Regions from separate parts of the Homo sapiens genome. Here region 2 is linked to region 1. Evidence: promoter capture Hi-C in human tissues and cell types (Jung and others, 2019). All regions are on one chromosome and are shown on one strand. The core of a region is centred on a gene start or on the middle of the fragment in contact, and the rest is flanking DNA. Distances in the headings are between cores, read along the strand shown. Region 1 overlaps AUNIP (aurora kinase A and ninein interacting protein). Region 2 holds the start of EXTL1 (exostosin like glycosyltransferase 1).

Region 1 (3,333 bases), core at 462-2,961:
TCCCCAGGTAGTTTGGTGTGTTTCTCCATACTCTGATAGTTCTTCTTAGACTCATGAAGCCATTCCCATTTCCTGGCAGAATCCCCTTTTTCTTCCTTTCGGTCTAGCAAACAAGAACTTTCCAAGTCCTCGGTGAAGGAAAAAGCCAGTGGGGTATGACTATCTCCAGCACAGTCTGGAGTATCAGGCTGGAGCAAAGATAGCTCAGTTGAAAATGGGGTTTTCATTCTGTGGTGGCCAGAAGTCTGGAGGGACTGAGGAGAGAGTCCAGCTTCCTGGATGTCTGCAGTGGTTGAAGTGGCTAAAGGGGATGCCATGCAATCGTGTGCTAAGCCTGGGATCAAATGGTCTAGCTGGGTCGCATTTTTCTTGGACTCTTTGTTGATCTGACTTTCTGTATGAGATGAAACACTCTTCTGGTCACTGCCATTTGTCTTTCCTAATAAAACAGGAATGAACAAATATTATTCTGCAGAAAAACTGCCCTAAGCAGGATTCAGTTGGCTTTTTCTGAAATCAGTATCAGCTACTATTACTACCTAGTGCAGGAGTCTTAAGACTCTTCACATAACTTTGTAGCCAATCTTCCTGTTTTCAATCTTGCCAGTCTATCATGAATAAACTCTAAAACATCAGATCTTATATTCCCTACTCAAATACATGGATACTTCCCATCACCTACCTAATAAAGTCAAACATCGCATACGATCAGACCATAGCCTACTTTACCAGCTGAGTTTTCATTTGTAGGTTTGTTTAACATACGGCACATCAGTTTTGCTTTTGTTTTTTATTTAATGTGGTTTTTTACTAAATGGTGATCCTGGTCAAATATACATTCCTAGACATTATCCTTAAAGAAACATGCTAAACACATACTAGTTTTGTAAGGTCTTAAAGATGACATTAACTATCCAACTCTGAGAAACCTTCTGGTGACAGTGTGAAAAACGTGGGTCCTCCACTCCCCAGGCATTTCATTGGAAAGGGAGTGAAGACACAATTAGGATGCTAAGTCAATCAGTAGGTAGAATAGTGAAACAACTACTAGTGTCCAGCCTGTTAATTTTATCAGGCATAGAGTGGATTCTGTTCTGCCTTAAGATAAGGATGGAGGACATGGAATTCCCAACTTGGCTCAAATTGTTCCAAGATCTAATTATAAAAACAAAGCAGAATAACTGATTTCCTCTTTCCTTCTACAATAAGAATTATACTGCAGAAACTAGGTTTTGTGAGAATTCTCAACTTTTCCTTAGCATTCAATATAGACTATAAAATACACCAGAATTTGTAAGTGGAAAAAGTGGGTTTTTTGTTTGTTTTTTTTAAATCTGCCCTTACATAAAGCAAAAGAGTGTACGTTTTTGTTTGGAGGAGGGAGAGGGCATTTTGAAGGTTTAGGCAAAGCAATCCTGAGAATCACACCCGGCATTAGAGCACTCTTCCCAACACCCTCCAAGTGGCAGGAACCCTGCTGTTTAAGGCCCAGCCTGCTCTGAGTCAGCTGCTCCCCTGAACAGGGACCTGGAAGCAAAGAACAGCCAAAGGAAGAGACATAAGCCAACTTTATGTGAGGCTAAGAAAAAGCATCTTTGAACCTTTCACTAATTTGAGAAGCGTCACACAAAAGTATCAATTATTAATTAACCTTAGACAGAGTACCCACTGTGGCCAACCCAAGATATATACCACCTAACTAATGGCAGGGCAACTCCCCAGTGCACCTCCAACTCCCAAGTACACCCTTCCTGACTGCTCTGTCAGCAAATACAAATATTTAATATTAAGCTGAGCAAAACAGAACCAGAAAAGTATGTTTGTAAAAGTACACATATATTGCTTTTCAAAAGGCAACAACTTATGTTTTATAACCTCTTCTAACAGGCTAAGTTTAACACAATGCACTGGTTTCACCATTTCTCATAAATGGTCTAACATGGACAAATGAACACACTCCTTTTTTGCTCTGGATAATGAAGTATTCCCATATGGGTCACCATACCTGGCTGCAAGGTGAAGAAGGAAGCAATGCTTCTCTGGTGAATGCCTGTAGATGGAGCTCTTCTTTGAGTAAAATAAATATTAGCCTTTCTTTCTCCAGGAAGGAGTGTTAGCATTTTGGTGCCTGGTTTGATTAAATGTGTCTGAGAAAGGAGAGAAAAAAGAATAATGAGCCTATTAATATTAAAAGACATACAGTAGAGATTCAGTACACACCAGTGATCCTCTGAGAACCACACTAGATCCTCTGTACTCCACTTATAGCCTATTCTCAAGGTAGTTGGTGCTGGACATCATCTTCCATTTCCAGCCATTGTAACGGTGTTTTTCTCAGGAATCACATATTCCAATGATAGCCCAATCTTTCTGCTTCCCCATGGAAATCAGGCTGACTAAACAAACAGGATTTGTTAACAGGATGGCAGAGATGATGCTCTTTTATATTTAAGGATAATTAATGATTCTACAGCAGCAGTTGATGCATTTTCAGTAGTTTTAAAGTAGTCACATAGTGGTGGTTAAGAGCATGGCTCAAGAATCAGTCCTTGGCCGGGCGCGGTGGCTCACGCCTGTAATCCCAGCACTTTGGGAGGCTGAGGCGGGCAGATAAGGAGGTCAGGAGTTCGAGACTAGCCTGACCAACATGGCGAAACCCCGTCTCTACTAAAAATACAAAAAAAAAAAAAAATCAGTCCTAGTTCTGCCACTGCCACTTTGCTATGTGACCTTCTCCAAGTTGCTTAATCTCATTCTTAGGTGTCAAATGACAATAATAGTACCTATCCATATGGCAGTTATGAAAATTTAGTAAGGCCAGGCGTGGTGGCTCACACCTGTAATCCCAACACTTTGGGAGGCCGAGGCGGGTGGATCACGAGGTCAGGAGTTCAAGACCAGCCTGGCCAATATGGTGAAACCCTGTCTCTACTAAAAATACAAAAATTAGCCAGGCGTGGTGGCAAGCGCCTGTAGCCCCAGCTACTTGGGAGGCTGAGGCAGAAGAATCGCTTTAACCAGGGAGGCGGAGGTTGCAATGAGCCGAGATTGTGCCACTGCACTCCAGCCTGGGCGACAGAGCAAGACTCCGTTTCAAAAAAAAAAAAGGAAAAAAGAAAATTTAGTAAATTTATTCACATAAAAGGCTTACACAGTTCCCGGCACATAGAAAACATTCAGTAGCAGTTGGCTAATATTAAGAGGAGGAGCAGTGGAACAGCACCAGTCTCACTACACTTTTAACTCAGGCGCTTTTATTCTTTAGAGAATGGAACTGGAAGATAGGCAAGAGAGGTTTGAAAAGTGAGTTGTCAACTAACTATAAATATAACC
Region 2 (3,333 bases), core at 471-2,970, 180 kb after region 1:
TCTATAATTGTCTTCTCCAGGACAGCGAGCTCTGGAGGGTGGGGACGCGTCTGTCTCCCTCCCTGTTGGGAGCTGGAATGGTGCAGCGGATATAGGAGCACACTACCTGGGTCCAAGTCCTGGCTAAGCCGTGAGAATTCAGGCAAATTACTTAAGCTCCCTCGGCCTCAGTTTTCCCAACTGTAAAATGTGGATCATCACAGTTTCTCCCTCCTAGGGTTGGGGAAAGGATGAAACAAGCTGATACAAAAGAGGGATGCTTGGCACGCTGTAAGTGCAATACGAGTGTCAGCTATGATTACTCTTACTCAGGGTTGTGTTCCTGGCCTAGCTCAGAACCTGGCCCATATTCAACACTCATAAGTGTTTGTTAGATGAATGGATGACTGTGTATGGGGATAGAGGGATGAAGGAATGACATGAGGACCTAGACGGGGGCTCTAACCCAGCCTGCGGAGCATTGGAGAAGCTTCTTGTGGGGAGGGAGCTTTCAGCTGACTCCTGCAGGATGAGGAGTTGGCTGGGCACAGTGAAAGGGGGGGCGTGCGAAGCAGCCAGTGGCCTTTGTGGATGCCTCTCAGTGTGGGAGGACTGAGTTATGCAGGAACTGCAGTTCATCACCGAGTGGCTGAGCCATTAGTGCCAAGAGGCAAGTGTCCCCTTTGTGGGCCATTTTTAGGACTCTCACACTGGCTGCTCACTGAGGGCAAAACATCCCACGGTGGCTCCCTGGTCTGATCAGCAGCCCTCCAAGATCAAGGGGAGGCACGCAGGGGAAAGGAGGCCACCACTTGTTGAGGGACCTCAGGGGACAGGCCTGCGTCAACCTGGCAACCCATTCCTGGCTGACATTATGCCCATCCCAGAGATAAGGGGACAGAGGCCCAACACCCCCGAGGCAGTCAGGGGAAGAGGCAGAACCCACTCAAGTCTGTCCACTCCCTGTGCCTTCCCTCATCAGCCCAGAACTCCTCATGGCCAGAGTGTGTCTCCCCCGTCACCCCAGAGATTCCTCAGTGGCTGACATCACCCACTCCTGACTCCCCTCACAGGGCACTGACCGGGGAAATCCCTCCATGGGGCCTGGACTATGGAAGAGTCAAGTGCAGGAAGAACTTTCCATAAGGACTGGAGCAAAAGGCTGGGAATTGGAGGAGATTGGGGGTGGGGCTGCTGAAGGAGGAGAGACCAATCCTGGGGACAGTTGGGGGCACCTTACCCAATTCCTCCACCCCCGCCCCTTAACTCCTCACTTGTCTCACCTGTTGACCTTCTCATGTGCCGATTCAGAGATTCCTCACACTCAGGCTCTGACCTCCACTGACTCTGATGGCCCACAGCAGGTGCAGGGTCTAGTTTTTCTCCAGCCACAGGGCCCACAGCTGGGGTGACCAACGACCAGGAGCTCAGGATTGAAATCCCCACCCTGCCACTTCTTAGCTGGGTCACCTTAGGAAGAGTTCATCCCCTCTCTGAGCTTTCCTCATCTGTAAGAAATGACAGGTAAATCTCTGCCTTGGAGGGTGGCTGGAGGACTGAGAGACAGAGGCTGTGATAACTCATGGCCAGCTGTGAGTTGCAGTACTTGCTGGTTGGATTAGCAATTGAGGAAACTGGTTTGGAAGGGGTTAAATGGAGACCCTGCCTCCCAGCCAGGAGCGAATCAGGGCTGGGAGGGGAGGAGCCAGGCTGCTGCTAAGGAAAGAGATCAGGATGGGCCAGTTGCCGACTGGAGAGGGATGGGAGGAGATACCATAGGGTTTGGGGGGCTTGGCACAGCGGCCCTGGCCTCTGCACTGTGATAGCTCCAAGCCAGATGGTGCAAGGCAGCTGCTGGGCTGCGGGGAAGAGGGGCTGCACTTCCTGAGCTGGTGCAGCGGCAGAGTGGATAAGGATCAGGACCCCGAGCCCTCCTGGCCCTCCAAGGCAGGGGGACACCGGCTGCACCCAGGCTGTGACCTCAGCTGACGCCGATGATCCACATGGGATGCAGGGTCTAATTTTAGCTCCAGCCACAGGGGCCACAGCCCAGAAGCGTCTGCCAGCGGGCACAGGGGCAGCCAGGGCTGCTCAGGCAAGGGGAGGAGTGGGAAGACCAGCCCAGCTCCCTCCAGCCTGTCCCTGGCCAAGCCGCCTCCTGTGGGAGCTCTGACTGGTCCCCATGGCCTGGCAGACAGCCCTCCTCTCAGTTGAGGGCAAGGTCAAGGGGTGCAGCCAGGAGGGCAGGGGGACACGGCCCTGCATTCTGGACAGGGGTTGCGTCAGCCAGAGCAGTGCCCAGGGGCAGGGGTCCCTGCTGGGAGGGAAAAGGCTGGCTTGGTTGTCCAAAGGCCGAGAAGGCAGAGTCCTGAGAGCAGGGGGGCCAGGCCAGCAAGCTGGGTCCCACCTGGCCTCCTCCTGCCTGGCTGGTGACTCACTATCTGACCTTAGACAGGCGGCCTGGTCTCGATGGGCCTCAGTCTTCCCATCTGTACAATGACAGCACAGGACTAGCAGGTCGGTCCCAGCTCTGGTCTCCCGCCCCAGGCCCTGCTCTTCCTGCTTGCTGGCAGAGGCCTCCCAGCTTCCCTAGCCCTGACTGTGGGTGGCCACATGCAGTCGTGGAGGAGAAGAAAGTCCCTGTGGCTGGCACTGTCAGCCTCCTGGCTCCTGCTTGTCCTGCTGGGAGGCTTCTCCCTTCTCCGCCTGGCATTGCCTCCCAGACCTCGGCCCGGGGCTTCCCAAGGCTGGCCCCGCTGGCTGGATGCAGAGCTCCTGCAGAGCTTCTCCCAGCCTGGAGAGCTCCCAGAAGATGCCGTTTCACCTCCTCAAGCCCCTCATGGTGGCAGCTGCAACTGGGAATCTTGCTTTGATACCTCAAAGTGCAGGGGCGATGGCCTTAAGGTATTCGTGTACCCAGCGGTTGGAACCATCTCTGAGACTCATCGCAGGATCCTGGCTTCCATTGAGGGCTCTCGCTTCTACACATTCAGCCCTGCTGGGGCCTGCCTCCTCCTCCTCCTCAGCCTGGACGCCCAGACTGGAGAGTGCAGCTCAATGCCTCTGCAATGGAACAGGGGCAGGAACCATCTGGTCCTCCGTCTCCACCCGGCTCCCTGCCCCAGGACCTTCCAGCTGGGACAGGCTATGGTGGCTGAGGCCAGCCCCACGGTGGACTCCTTCCGGCCCGGCTTTGATGTGGCCCTCCCTTTTCTCCCTGAAGCCCACCCGTTGCGAGGTGGGGCTCCTGGCCAGCTGCGGCAACACAGCCCCCAGCCCGGGGTAGCCCTGCTAGCCCTGGAAGAGGAGAGGGGTGGGTGGCGCACAGCAGACACTGGCTCCTCTGCCTGCCCC

The links. The method cuts DNA at HindIII sites, captures the fragments that hold promoters and counts their contacts. A contact is called where the count stands out against the background at its distance.
Region 2: a contact is called between the fragment with the promoter of EXTL1 here and a fragment that was not itself captured in region 1, in 2 of the 25 tissues and cell types used here (bladder and lymphoblastoid cells).

The regions. Positions count from the first base shown.
Region 1 is chr1:25,835,408-25,838,740 of GRCh38, forward strand. It overlaps AUNIP (aurora kinase A and ninein interacting protein), which reads right to left. Exons shown (of 3, transcript NM_024037.3): 2 at 2,006-2,147; 3 at 1-439. Among named protein-coding and RNA genes, the nearest start is that of MTFR1L, 17 kb to the left of the region's middle. The HindIII fragment of the contact is 4,972 bases long and covers 1-3,333 here.
Region 2 is chr1:26,020,055-26,023,387 of GRCh38, forward strand. EXTL1 (exostosin like glycosyltransferase 1) reads left to right here and starts at 1,721. Exons shown (of 11, transcript NM_004455.3): 1 at 1,721-3,333. The coding sequence starts at 2,593. The HindIII fragment of the contact is 12,554 bases long and covers 1-2,732 here.